Regions from separate parts of the Homo sapiens genome. Here region 1 is linked to region 2. Evidence: promoter capture Hi-C in 16 types of primary human blood cells and fetal thymus (Javierre and others, 2016). All regions are on one chromosome and are shown on one strand. The core of a region is centred on a gene start or on the middle of the fragment in contact, and the rest is flanking DNA. Distances in the headings are between cores, read along the strand shown.

Region 1 (7,644 bases), core at 3,625-6,124, 150 kb before region 2:
GATGGTAGCTGGTTATTTTGCTCAGTAGTTGATGCAGTTTCTTCCTAGCCTTGATGGTCTTTACAATTTGGCATGTTTTTGCAGTGGCTGGTACCAGTCGTTCCTTTCCATTTTTAGTGCTTCCTTCAGGAGCTCTTTTAGGGCAGGCCTGGTGGTGACAAAATCTCTCAGCATTTGCTTGTCTATAAAGTATTTTATTTCTCCTTCACTTACGAAGCTTAGTTTGGCTGGATATGAAATTCTGGGTTGAAAATTCTTTTCTTTAAGAATGTTGAATATTGGCCCCCACTCTCTTCTGGCTTGTAGAGTTTCTGCCGAGAAATCAGCTGTTAGTCTGATGGGCTTCTCTTTGTGGGTAACCCGACCTTTCTCTCTGGCTGCCCTTAACACATTTTCCTTCATTTCAACTTTGGTGAATCTGACAATTGTGTGTCTTGGAGTTGCTCTTCTCGAGGAGTATCTTTGTGGCATTCTCTGTATTTCCTGAATTTGACTGTTGGCCTGCCTTGCTAGATTGGGGAAGCTCTCCTGGATAATATCCTGCAGAGTGTTTTCCAACTTGGTTCCATTCTCCCCGTCACTTTCAGGTACAGCAATTAGATGTAGAGTTGGTCTTTTCACATAGTCCCATATTTCTTAGAGGCTTTGTTCGTTTCTTTTTATTCTTTTTTCTCTAAACTTCTCTTCATGCTTCATTTCATTCATTTCATCTTCCATTGCTTATACCCTTTCTTCCAGTTGATCACATTGGTTACTGAGGCTTGTGCATTCATCACGTAGTTCTCGTGCCTTGGTTTTCAGCTCCATCAGTTCCTTTAAGGACTTCTCTGCATTGATTATTCTAGTTATCCATTCGTCTAACTTTTTTTCAAAGTTTCTAACTTCTTTGCCATTGGTTAGAACTTCCTCCTTTAGCCTGGAGTAGTTTGATCTTCTGAAGCCTTCCTCTCTCAACTCGTCAAAGTCATTCTCCATCCAGCTTTGTTCCATTGCTGGTGAGGAGCTGCGTTCCTTTGGAGGAGGAGAGGTGCTCTGATTTTTAGAGTTTCCAGTTTTTCTGCTCTGTTTTTTCCCCATCTTTGTGGTTTTATCTACCTGTGGTCTTTGATGATGGCGACGTACAGATGGGTTTTTGGTGTGGATGTCCTTTCTGTTTTTTACTTTTCCTTCTAAAAGTCGGGACCCTCAGCTGCAGGTCTGTTGGAGTTTACTGGAGGTCCACTCCAGACCCTGTTTGCCTGGGTATCAGCAGCAGTGGCTGCAGAACAGCGGATATTGGTGAACTGCAAATGCTGCTGCCTGATCGTTCCTCTGGAAGTTTTGTCTCAGAGGAGTACCCAGCCCTGTGAGGTGTCAGTCCGCCCCTACTGGGGGATGCCTCCCAGTTAGGCTATTCGGGGGTCAGGGACCCACTTGAGGAGGCAGTCTGTCCGTTCTCAGATCTCAAGCTGTGTGCTGGGAGAACCACTACTTTCTCCAAAGCTGTCAGACAGGGACATTTAAGACTGCAGAGGTTATTGCTGTCTTTTGTTTGTCTGTGCCCTGCTCCCAGAGGTGGAGCCTACAGAGGCAGGCAGGCCTCCTTGAGCTGTGGTGGGCTCCACCCAGTTTGAGCTTCGGGGCCACTTTGTTTACCTACTCAAGCCTGAGCAATGGTGGGCGCCCCTCCCCTAGCCTCGCTGCTGCCTTGCAGTTTGAACTCAGACTGCTGTGCTAGCAATGAGCGAGGCTCCATGGCCTAGGACCCTCTGAGCCAGGTGCAGGATGTAATCTCCTGGTGTGCCGTTTGTTAAGCCCGTTGGAAGAGCGCAGTATTAGGGTGGGAGTGACCCGATTTTCCAGGTGCCGTCTGTCACCCCTTTCTTTGACTAGGAAAGGGAATTCCCTGACCCCTTGCACTTCCTGGGTGAGGCGATGCCTCGCCCTGCTTCGGCTCACGCATGGTTCACTGCATCCACTGTACTGCACCCACTGTCCTGCACTCCCCCTTGAGATGTACCCAGTACCTCAGTTGGAAATGCAGAAATCACCTGTCTTCTGCATTGCTTATGCTGGGAGCTGTCAGGAAACTATTTTTAAAGAAGTAAAGGAAGGTATGGTAATGTTTATAAAATAAATAATGTCAATAAACAGGTAGAATTTTTTTAAAGAATTAACTTGAAATTCTAGAGTTGAAAAGTAAAATAATTGAAATGAAAAATTCAACAATATATTGAACTGTCAGAAGAGAGAATCAGCAAATTAGATCAATAGCAATTAAGCAATTTAAATAACACTGAGAAAAAAGTAATGAAGAAAAGTAGGCAGAACCTCAGAAAATTTTGGGATATATGCACACCAACATATGTGTAATAGGAGTACAAGAAGGAGTGGATAGAGAAAAGGAACAGAAAACAGAAAAAAATTCAAAAATAATGATGTAAAATTTACTAAATTTGATGAAAAACAATCTATTCATTTAACAAGATCAACAAACTCCAAGTATGAGATACACAAAAAGACTCACATCTAGAGACATCACTGTAAAAGTATTGGGGAAAAAAGGTGAAGAGTGACTCCTGAAAACAGTGAAAGAAAAATGACTCATCACTTACAAGGAAACCCCAATAATATTTATAGCTTATTTTTAATCAATGAAAGCCAGAGGCATTGGAATGGCATTTTCAAAATGCTGAGAAGAAAAACAAAAAACAAGAATCAAAACAAAACTGTCAACTAAAGCTACACACAAAGAACAGTGGAAGAGAATTGAGTGTCAAAAATAAACCATAAATTGATGGTTAACGATTTTTTGACAAGGGTGCCAAAAATTTGACTGTTTCACTGAGGAAACAATAGTCTTTCAACAAATAATGCTATGGCTACTGGAAAACCACAAGCAAAATAATAAAATTGACCCTTATCTTATAACATTAAAAACATTTAACTCAAAATGGATCAAAAACCGAACTGAGGGCCTAAAACAATAAAAGTTGTAGAAGAAAATATACAAGAAAATCTTTATGACCTTATGGGAAAACACAGTCTTGGCTTTCATGGAACTCTGGTCTGAGATGGCTATATAGCAGCTGCCCTTAGGGAGCACGCAGTCCAAGTTGGGGAGAGAGAAACCTGGACCTTAGCGTGTGTCTGATCCCAGCTGGAACATTATTTCCTTTCTGGGGAATGGTATCATCTGTCACTTTGGCCACCAGTCAGCTCCATACTTATTAATATGCTAGTTGAATTATTTGGAGGGGTCACCCAATATGTGCAGTGCTTGAGCTCCTTCTTGTTACTGAAGCCAAAAGGAATATATCCCTCATCTAGTCTCCTGGAATAGTCAAGAAGCAGGTATATGGCTGAGAATCAGTGTACTGGATGTCCCTTGGGTGACTGACCAAAGACACAGGGACATCTAGAGGTTGTATTAATCAGAGCATTTGTGAGGTGGACATCACATTATTCCTACATGTTCTTGCTGTCTGATCTGCCAGACACCAGGGGGTTTTCATGGATTAAAAAATAAGTGCAGGGTATTGCCCACTTATCCAGTTCATAGTAAAATTATTGAGGCATAATACACACAACATTAAATTAACAATTATTCAATCTCATGTAAAATTTGTAATTGAAAAAATATTGATGAAAAATCAGGACTTCTTCACAAAATATAGAGACGAAATATTTGACTGGAAAGATTGGACTTGGGACTCTGGGAGAGAAAAGAAAGACATTGATTTTTAACATACTGATTCCTTTTCTACGGATTTTTAAGTTTTTTCAGATCATATTTACCACATGTTCTATGCATACTTGTAGTTAGAATAGTCTAAGATTCATGGTCTGTTTGCAGGAAGTTTACATATAATTTTCTAATATTTTTTACTGAAAGAGAATGAAATTTGGGAGTGAGTGGGCAGTATTGTAAAGGGGAGGAGGGGTAGATGGATGAAAGGATGGGGTGCATATCTGTCTCCCTGCCACACCCTGGAGACCAAGTAGGACCCTGAAGAAGTCCAAAGCACAAGGCTCTGTGTTCCTGAAACACCAGGAAGATGGGCACAGGCAGAGCCACGTAGTGATTCCTCTGACATAAGGTGTCAAAGTAGGAGCCATAGAAGTTTTTCTCTCCCCTCCTCCATATCTTTAGCCATGCGACTAGCACATCTTGATTTCCAAAGCTTCCAGGCAGCAGGAAAGTAGAGAGCAGTGAAAAAAATATTGGAGACACAAACAGGCAAGGAACAGTCCACAATAAGTGGCAAGAAGATCTTTTGCTTTATTGTTTCACTTGAGGCTGCAGGAAATGAGCTGGAGAGTGAGTTTGTGGCTTGGGATCCCAGAGTAGACAACACAGTTGGTGTCAGGGGCAGCAGATAGGTTTGTGGGAGAAGAATCAAGTTTCTGGATCCCAGGGCAGAGGGATCCTCTAGGCCAGAGCTCAGAGCCTTCACGCGGGCATCTCAGCCACTCTTGCAGGCCCAGGAGGAGACAGGTGAGGAGGAAATGTTTGATCACTCATTTCACCCGAGTCTGCTCTTCTAGGTGCAGAGTCCGCTTCAGCAGCAGCCTCCAGAGTGCTGGCCGCTGTCCCCTCCACAGCAGCTGGAGCCTCCCGAGGGCTGGCTGCAGCAGCCAGAGCTCTGGAGTCTGTGACGGTGGGACCTGTGGCGCCTGTGGTGGCTCAGGCAGCAGCCACCTCCCCCAGAGCTGCAGCCGCCCCCAGAGCTGGAGCCACAGCAGCCTCCGGAGCTGACACTGCAGCAGGAAGAGACTGGAGGGCACTTAGGGGGACACTTTGGGGGGCACTTAGGAGTGGGGCACTTGGGAGGGCACTTGGGGGTGCACTTGGGAGGGGGCTGGCACTGCTGCTGGCTCTGCTGGCAGGACATCTCGGCGGTGGGTGTTCAGGAGCTGAAGGAGAGTCAAACAGCAAGTTACAGCCAGGCACAGAGGCCACCCTTATTGCCTTTTTACCATCATTTATTTTTGCTACATTTTTAAAACCTGTTCAAATAAGTCAGAGAGAAATTATCTCTAAAATTGTTTGTCAGATGCTTTCACAATGTGTTATAGGATCATCAGGATGTTTTTATAAAATAGAAATAGACTATCTTATTTTAACCCAGCAATATAATGAGGACATCTGTATTAACAAACTTGCCCAAAATTAATGTCCTTTAAGTGGAAAAGGCAATCTGACATTCACAGAATCTGACTGAAGTCTACCCTTCTGCACCACTTAGAATTCTGAAAATGTCCAATCTAGGAGCCAGTTTAAACCTGCAGTTCTGCTTTTTAAAAAATAAGCAAGAAGACCCTATCTCTAAAAAAAAATTAGCTGGGTATGGTGGCACGCACCTGTAGTCCCAACTACTTAGGAGGCTGAGGCTGGAGGATCGTTTGAGCCCAGGAGGCCAATGCTGCAGGGAGCCAAGGTCATGCCACTGCACTGCAGTCTGGGCAATAGAATGACACTTTGTCTCAAAAATAAATGAAATAAAATAATAAAATAAAAATAAAGATTCCCTTTTGTAGGAGCTTCCCAGATGGCTGTATTTGGTTGACACAAACACACAATATATTATAGTCAGAATTGCAAAGGGTCATCATATGAGCTGGCTATCCCAAATCATATTATAAATGGAGAAATGAGGTCTAAAGCTAATTGTAGCAAGCTGACACGTGACCCTAGATTTCCCGGTCTGGTGAATCCATGCCTAGTGAAGCTCCCTCTTAGAACCCACAGACTCCTCTATCTGCCACCCTGGCAACCATAAATTTCAACTTGTTACTTGCTGTTCAACACTGGAGCTTCTGATATACAGATGCCCAGGCACCACTCATGACTAACTCACTCCTGATGAAGGTGTAAGGGCCATGTATCTCTGTGTTTATCAAGCTCCAAATATGCTTCCTCTGGTCTCCGGTCTCCATTATTTAAGAACCACTATAATCCCAGTACAGGCTTCGGGGAAGAGACACAGTTGAGTTGCTAAGATCTACTCTCTGAAAGGAAAGTTTGTTTTAACTTATCTGGAATGGGAGACACTAAAAAAAATACAGAACTAATTTGGATTAGAGCATGAAGCATAGACATACAAATCATCCAGGTGCTTCCCATCTCTCCTGCCCCACAGCTTGAACTCCATCAGAATTTCTAGACATTCTCCACCTCTTCTAATCCAGCTACCCCTCCCCAACAAAGCCCTGCCCAGCCTTCCCTCCTGCCCTGGTCTGGGCATCCCTCTGTGGAACCCCTGCTCCTTTTCCCAGTGGACGCTTACCGAGGTCACAGGCAGCACAGGGTCCTTCAGCACCTCAGGAGGTGAATGGATGGGGTGCTCTGGCCACGAGCCCTTTTATCCTGGCCTGGGCTCTGCCTCCAGCTGTGAGACAGGGCCTGGGAATGAAAGGATCTGTCTCCTGACACCCACATGGGTCCTGTGACAAGGAGTGACTGGCAGCTCCACATCTGCCTTTCTCCACGGGGCTCAGGGGAGCTGTTCCTAGTGTGGAATATGACTTAGAAATGGGGTGGGAGTGAATTCCTACCACCACCTGGTACCTTATTCTCTTAGAGGTGCCTACCTCTCAGTTCTCGCTCTTGAAATGTGGTCCCCCAAATGTTCTCCTTCTTCCTCTAGCAATGTGAATTTATGAGCTCCAGGCATCCAGGTTTGAACAAAGAAACACAGAAGCCTCTTAGCTTTTTCACATGTGTCCCACCACTTAGCCACTGGGAGTTGTTTACGTGTGTGGGTGCCTGTGTGTGTGTGCCTGTGTGCATGTTTCTTTTTTTTTTTCTTTCTTTTTTTTTTTTTTTGAGACAGAGTCTCGCTCTGTTGCCCTGGCTGGAGTGCAGTGGCATGATCTCGGCTCACTGCGAGCTCTGCCTCCCAGGTCCACGCCATTCTTCTGCCTCAGCCTCCCAAGTAGCTGGGACATACACATATATGTATGTACATATATATGTATATACACATATATGTATGTACATATATATGTATATACACACACATTTATTTTTTGGTCAGGCATGAAGCCAGCATTTGCATAGCACTATAGAGTTTATGAATAGTTATTCCACATGACTTAGGCTATCAGCATAAGAACCTGGAGCATGCAGACATACATGCTGAGGATATGTCATCCTGCAGAGATCTGTACCTATGTTGCCTGAGTGTGACTCTTCTTTTCCTGCTCAGGTTGTTACAAAAGGCTTTGTTATAAGGGAGTGGTCAGGATATCAATACCTTGGCTCATAGGTAAGTCTTACTCAGAAGCAGACTCACTGATTCTTAGGATACTTGGCCTGAGGGATCACATGATCCATGCCTCTAGTGATGTGGTACTCAATATGTCAATCAGTCTGATTTAGATCTGGATGGTAAGTTGGCAGCAGGTTTGAAACCTCATAAAGGTTGGTCTGCTTGCCTTAATTGTATGATGTCAGTGACTTAAATTTCATAAAATTTTTATTAAGCAAGTGACTGGCTTTTTAGATCTTCTGTTATCAAGGCTTGGAAGCTGACATGGCTGAGATCTAGAATGCAGCTATGAGGCAAATCAAAAGTAAAGCATTATGTCCCACATTGTAAATTTATAGGAATGACTGCAATACTTTTTTTCTAATTGTTTCTATGTCCATCTGTAAACTGG
Region 2 (7,470 bases), core at 4,208-6,707:
CAGTTCTTACAAGAGTAAATGAGAGAAGGATATGATCAGATGAATTAAAAGAAAAGAACATCTCTAAAGAGAAAACAATTTGAGGATTTTCTTGGACTGTCTCCCATTAGTAAATTCAATAATCAGAGTTTATTAATTCACTCTTATACACACTCAGCAAGTATTGTTGACTATGTGGCCAACTCTGGGGATACTACATGATATGAAAGGAATATAATATCTGCCCACTGTGACTATATTCTTCAGAAAGGAGGGAGGGACGTGGATGAAGAGGGCATGAGAAATAGAGGCTCATTTTATGCAGTGTGGGAACTAACACAGAAACATTAGTATATCAGGCAAGAAAAGAAGGGAATAGCTGTTTTAAGTCTAGCTTGTTGAGAAGAACTTACCATAAGCTGTTTGAATTTCACACACAGTAAATAGTGCATGCCTTCCCAGTTTAACTCCAGAGAACTTGTTGAGACCACAGAATGTAGTTAAATCACCTAGATTTGGATTCTGAGAACAAGTTACTTGCCTTAAAGCCTTAGAAATGTGCCCGAAATTGTCTGTGCATCTGTCTTTTCATCTATGAAGTGTGGAAAATAGCTGTAATTTCCTAACAGCAATATTGTGTGAATTAATTGTTATTTTGGTTGAGTTACACCTGAAACACTTATAAGAGTGCATATCTTATAACTAGCACAAAAGTTTAGAATTACATAGTTTTACTCTTTCTGTACATAGTTCTGAATTAGGTGTGAAGATGGAGCAATGCAACCAGCGTGGGGGTGGACTAGGATTGAAATCTGACCTAGCAAGGTCAAGGAGCAACCATGAAATGGTAACATGGGGAATTTCTTTCTGAATATTAGTGGGTTTGCCAATTATTTACAAGCAGAAGGAGAATTGTTTAGAAAATGAAAAGTAGCCTTATTCTAGTTTACACATGTGTTCTGTTCAGCTGAATTCACTTCCAGCTGAACTCATGTTAAGATATCCTGCCAACTGAGCCAGCAACAGTAAGAGTCCCTCCAAGAGCCGGCCAATATGCTGGTCCCTCAGGCTCTGGAGTTTTTCTTAGCACTGGGGTTAGTGTTGGTCCTGCTCTGGGAGCAGCTGCTCCTGGAGTTAGCACAGGCAAAACACAGTCAGCAGACCTTGGCTGCAGAGCTGTTGCAGCAGCAGCGACAGAGCCTGGAGAGTCAGTGAGAGAGCAGCGTCGCAGCTCTCGGGCACTGCTGTGGATCTCAGAGGGTCCGAGTTGAGATAACCACACACACAAGCATCCATCCTGGCCCAAAACTCCTTTCTACTCTACCCTATTCCTGGGCTGACCCTCTGGGGACTCAAGAGGGTGACCAGGTAGAATTTTTCATTCGATGTGGAGGTGAAAGTGCTCTCTGGGGATTCTGGCCCAGGTGACAATCTATCCACCTTTTCCTTTTCACAATGTGTTCTGGTTACTGTTGACTCTCCTCACTTGGGTCATATTTCAGATAACCCAGAGTTAATCATCTGTCACCCTCCCACTCTAGATACCTTTGAAAGAGATGCAGCCATAACACCAAGTATGGTTTCTGATTGGACAGCACACTTCTTCTCAGAGCCTCACCCTCCTCCTGCCCTTGAGAGATGATCCAGACCCCTGATCCTTGGCCCACTTCTGGGTGATGGGTGGATTAGAGGTGGGGAGACAGGAGGCAGAAGTAACCTGGAGCCTCCGCCAGGCTTCCATAAGCCAGGTCTTGTGCCTGTCTCCAGGGAGCCCCCCAGAGCACTCCAGACCTCAGCTGCAGGCAGTGAATTCCCCTGCCTAATCAACCTTCCAGGCAGATTTGCCTCAGTGCATACAGCAGAGACCATAAAGGTGGAAACGTGGGCAGGACGTTCCTGAATGTTGCATTAAGAGGTAAGTGAAGTGTACCCAGAGAGTCTGTGTCGCTATTTCCAGAAACCAGCAATCCAGCTGTCTTTACTCAGCAGGTTGAACTATATCAAGAACTACTTGATTGGATGTGTACGCAATGTGCGTGCTCCACTTCATTCTTAACTTACATCTTTAAATTTTGTCCAGAACCACACCATGTCCAGATATCAAAATTTATACTTCTCTATCCCTTCTGTACATACAAGCAGCCAGTGAGATTTAGGAAATTGTTGGGACTTTAGGAAAGCTCAGGTAAGAGGCTCTATTGGGATCAGGACCTTTCACCCACCCTTTCTCTTTCTTCAGACCTGAAGTACAGCGTTGCAGATCAGAACTCCATCAGGCATCTTGAGATCACCAACTGTTTCTCAGGAAATAAGCACTAATAATGAAATGACAAGACAGAGGGGTATCCATCTCTGAATACTCCAGGGAACCACCATACCAGCCATGGACTACTGACCTCTGACTTAATCACATGTGAGTGGAAATAGCCTGCTCTCCTCTTTAAATTGCTGTGATTTTGAGTTCCTGTGATAGTAGCAGAACTTAATTTCTAACACACATGCACACATGCCAAACATAAGATAAGATGCAAGTAAAAACCAATAGTCAGATTGGAAATTATTCTGTGTATGGAAGTTTAGATAAGGAAAGGATTATGTTCACCATGAAAGGAGCACATGGAGCCCCAGATAGCAGGCCCACTGGAGAAGGAAAGGGCCGGTGAGTTGCTCTTACTTAAGGCAGAGGTCCCTGAAAGCATACTCGGGTGTCCACCCCTCCGCAGGCCAGCCTTCACCTGCCCCAGGCAACCTTAGGTCCCCCGCTTGGTGTTCCATTTTATACTGTTTGGGTTTTTTTATTTGTTTTGTTTGCTGACATGTAAACACTAAGGACAAGGAAAAACTTCTTAACCAACTCAGGAAACCCTGAAGCTATGAAAGCAAAGAAAGTCATATTTGAGTATTTAAAAACTACAAATATTTCCATAGCAAAAGTTATTATAAACAGAGTCAATTAATTATGATGTATTAAATATTTTAATAAAGACAGATCAAGGTTAATATCCATGATATATCAAGAGCTCTTGAAAATTGAAAAGAAAATTTAAAATCCTATTACAAATTTTGTAGAAATAGCCAATGTACATATTTATGGAAGCTCAAAATTACTACTGGTCAGGGACTTGAAAATTAGTTAATAATGAGACTGGCAAAATAATAAAGAGCATTGAGTCAAATAAACTGACTCAGTGCAGAGGGTGATTTAAAATGCAGACAGTACAGAATCTCAAACTGGTTAATCAGCTGGGTTTTTGTCTTAGTGGCACTAAGGGTAAGTAAGAAGGTAAACATATTAATAAGAGGCTCCATCTCTGTCAAAATCCGTCTTTGCTGAATCCATTATCTTCATGTCGACACCTGTCAGCCTGAACCTAAGAAGCACTAGCCCTTGTTTCCCCTGCTGTGTCCCTGCTTCCCTCCCCTTCCTCTAGTAATACTTAAGATGCCCCACCCATCCTGGCGCTTCTCCCCCCTCACATTCTGAGGGTGGCTTGGCAAAAAAGATAAGTATTGAAGGAGGAAAGGTCTATTCTTTCATACAGCGTTTTGTATTCTTTGTATTCTTATGTTCCTTATATTCTTTGTATCTTCTAAGCAACACTTCCATGTTTTTTCACTTAATATCTCCATCACTCATCACTCCCCTGCCCAGCACGTGAGCCAAGTGGCAGGACAGCATCCTGGGACTCAGATCTAACACTGTGAGGAACTGAAGCCAGGTGTCCAAGGCAGCAAGTCAAAAGGCTGATCTTAACCAGACTCATGAAAAGAAGCTGAGTGACCATGGGCTGTACTTTACAGGAGGAAGGGTCTCAACATCTGTTTCAAGCATTTTATCCAACTATTGATTCTAAGGGCAGGAAAGTTTTGCTTCATAGGGATGTGTTCTTCTCCCTAGAGAAGAACAAGTCTGCAGAGCTTCCCAACCTTCCCAACGTCTGGATTACACAGAAAATTAGAACATGTGTCTGGCTTAGTGGAGAGAAAGGCAAAGCTACCATAGCCAGAGGTGACCCTCTTGGAGCTCCATTCACTCAGCATCTGGGGGAATCAGTTCCTCAGAGCAGCTTTTCATGTATCACCTACTCATGTCCTGTCCTAGCCTCATGAAGAAAATTACTCTGAGGCCCTGACCTTTGGAGGACATTTGAAATCTCAGAAGAGAAGAGAATGACCAAGACATTTAGTGAGTCAGAGATCAGAGCTTTATTATAACATGAGGTAAAGGAGGAAAAGAAGACTTGCAATTGGGGTGTTACATCAAGCACGAAGTTCTTCCAGGAAAGCCCCATGAGTCTTTGTGGTCTCTGCCAACCAATGAATGGAATGAGAGGAAGTGGAAAGAGTATCCATCAGGCCGTAGCAGGTTCTTGGCCATTCAGTCCCAAGAGCTCTTCTGTAGCCCAGGTCAGCAGCAGCCCCCAGAGCTGTGGCAGCAGCCAGAGCCCCCAGAAGGTTCACTCTCACAGCAGTCGGGGCTCTGGTGCCGGCGCCGGTGGAAGAGACGGGGCCTGTGGTGGCTCAGGGAGCAGCCACCAGCCCCAGAGCTGCAGCAGCCCCCAGAGCTGGGACCACAGCAGCTCCCAGAGCTGGGACCACAGCAAGAAGAGACTGCAGGGAAACATGGAGCTGGGCACTGTGGTGGGCATTTGGGGGGACACTTAGGTGGACATTTTGGGGTACACTTGGGAGGACACTTGGGAGGGGGCTGGCACTGCTGCTGGTTTTGCTGGCAAGACATGCTGGCAGGAGTTTAGTCAACCTGAAAGATAATAATGAAACTCTTTAAATATTTCAAACCAAGGATCATATTATACCTCTTCTAAAATCAATGCATGTGTAGAAGAAGAATGATATTTAGATAATACAATCACATCAGTAACCTGAAAGAAACAACTTGAATCTTTCCTCTAGATAAAAGTACGTAGATAAAAAATCAACAGAATGAGCTTCTTACTCTTCCTTTCAGGGGAAACTGCGATTGCTCTATCCTCACAAGCCCGAATAGAGTATTCACAGCTCCCTGAAGTACCTATTCCTTTAATACAAGCCCTAAGGACAAGCTGGGTGTTGCAGGACATACCAAGGGGTCCTCTGGAAAATATTTTGCAATGAAACCTCCAGATAAAAGAGCCTGGCTTGAAGTATTTGCCAGTTTCCATGGTGTAAATATGCCCAACACAGCAGTTTTGAAGTTACCAACATGAAGTCACTGAACACAGAATTGGAAAAGATGTGCACAGTTAGCTTTCCCCACCTATATGAGCTCCGGTAGGCCTCAGAGCCTCAACAGATTCGAGGCAGGCTGAGTCCCATTCCTGCTCAGTATGGCAGAACACAAGCACACAACTCTTTCTCCAGCCTACCTCCATCCTCCCCATCCCTCTGCCTTGCTCATACCCCTCTGGTATCCCAGGTTGCCACTCACCCTGGTCACACGCAGGAGCACAGACACGTCCCTGGGGAGTCAGAGCAGATGAGATGCTGAAGCTGGATGTGTCTTTTATAGGGCCCAGGCTTGGCTCTGGAAAGAGCAGGAGGTGGCTCTTGCACAACCAGGCACACGCTGGGTCATTCCTGACATTCTCCTGCCTCTTAGTCCCTGCAATCCAAAGAGGCCTCAGGAGCTTCCAGGACTCCTCTCTGGGGCTGCAGTCTAGAGAGGCTGTAGCCAGTCAGAGCCTCCACCAGGTGGGAACCCTAAAGAGTTAACTTAGGGTACCCAAGGGACCCACACCTGGACAAGATTCTGTTCCCTGCATTTTTTTAATGCATGTCCTCTGAGGAAACATCAGTTCTGAGCCACAGCTTTCCCTGACCTTGTGGAAATGTTCCATTATGACTCCCTCCACCCTGAGCAGTTTCTCTTCCATGTCCTGCTGTGGATCCAGCCATCCCAGAGGGCTTCTACAGCCTTGGCTTTTTCTAGGCATCCCTCCCTTGCCTAGGCTCTCAGCCCTTCCTCCTGGCCTCTGTGTTTCTGCTTTTCCTCCGACTCACCATGGCAAGCAGATTCGGTGGATTAAATCTGAGTTGATTCTGTCACCTAAAGCAAGGAGAATGATTGAGAATAAACAATTCCCTCTAAAATCTAAACATTTCCTTCAGTCAGAGGACTTGTATTGAATGTGCTACTGGAATCAGAAAACTTGCATATGATAACTGGGTAATCTCTGAAAGTTGCTGTAACAATTATCAATAATTGCTAGAGTATTACTATGATACTCACTGTGAGTATCAGTTCTCACATATAATGCCCATTATAAACCTATCAGTGAGATATACCTATCTCACTGAGCTGTTTGTAATATAAAGTGAGAAGCAAGAAAGAGCTAAGTATGACATTTTGTGCCTGATAGACCCTTAATAAATATATGTTTAATAGAAAAACTAATGCCATGTATTGGATACTTGCCCCGGTCTTATGTGTCATTAATTGCCCATATAGAGCCCTTACCCTCAGAGAGCTTAACTCCACCAGACACTTAGATTATTTGAAACCTGTCTTGGGAAGTAGACATCATTTCTTGGGGCTCCTATGCAGAGGGAACTCCTTTCCTACCAGGAAGTAGAGGGTCAGCCAGGAATCTAGTTATTCAGAGTTCTGATTCAGGGTTGCACTAGACAGAGTTACCCAGTCATTTATTCATTTAGTTTAAACAGATACATTGAGTGTGAACCTTGAAAACATTACACTACGTGAAAGAAGCCAGTCACAAAAGACTGCATATTGTATGATGTTATTTATATGAAATGTGTAGAGTAGGCAAATCTCTGGAAATAGAAAGGGGATGAGGCTTTAGCCAGTTACAGCCTCTCCCAGGCTGGACCCCTGAAGAGCTGACTCAGGGCATCCGAGGAACAAGAGCCTGGATGAGATTCTGTTCCCTGTATCTCCTTTTATGTTTATGCCTGTCCTCTGAGAAATATCAGTGGCTTCCAGGTGCTTTAGCGGGCTGGGAGATATTGAGAAGTTACTGCCAATGGATACAGGTTTTCTTTGTGAAGTAATGAAAATGTTCTAAAATTATGGTGGTGATTGTCCAACTCTGTGAATATACTGAAAACCATTGAATTTACACTTTAAACAAATGAACTACAAATATGTTAATTACATCTCAATAAAGGTGTTAAAAATTAGAATTGAAAAAAATAGATATTCACACCTCTGATTAAAACAGAAACAGACTGTGCCTTCACATTGCCTAATGCCTACTTAGTGGGGGAGGGGAGGATGCGGAGAAAGCATAGTTTCCCATTGTCAGCTTCTAACTGAGGGATTCTGTTCTCCTAGTTATGCAATCCTATTATCAGATCTGATTCCTGCTCTCAGGAAGCTTTTACCTGAAGGATAAAGTAAGTCAACAGTGTGGTCAGAGCAGTGAATTCAAAAGGCATTCTTTGAAAGCCTACAACGTTCTTGAATCATGTATGTCCAAATATAGGGATATAGAGGTGAATAATAAGTAGCCCATGACCTCAAGGACTGTA

The links. The method cuts DNA at HindIII sites, captures the fragments that hold promoters and counts their contacts. A CHiCAGO score of 5 or more calls a contact.
Region 1: the fragment with the promoter of LCE1A here is called in contact with the fragment with the promoter of LCE2C in region 2 in 7 of 17 cell types (neutrophils, naive CD8 T cells, total CD4 T cells and 4 more); the score reaches 11.7 in neutrophils.

What each region holds. Positions count from the first base shown.
Region 1 is chr1:152,824,703-152,832,346 of GRCh38, reverse strand. LCE1A (late cornified envelope 1A) reads right to left here and starts at 4,874. Exons shown (of 1, transcript NM_178348.2): 1 at 4,250-4,874. The coding sequence starts at 4,874. The coding sequence ends at 4,542. The HindIII fragment of the contact is 5,440 bases long and covers 4,166-7,644 here.
Region 2 is chr1:152,673,266-152,680,735 of GRCh38, reverse strand. It overlaps LCE2C (late cornified envelope 2C), which reads right to left and starts at 5,457. Exons shown (of 2, transcript NM_178429.5): 1 at 5,408-5,457; 2 at 4,167-4,741. The coding sequence starts at 4,720. The coding sequence ends at 4,388. The HindIII fragment of the contact is 8,836 bases long and covers 1-7,318 here.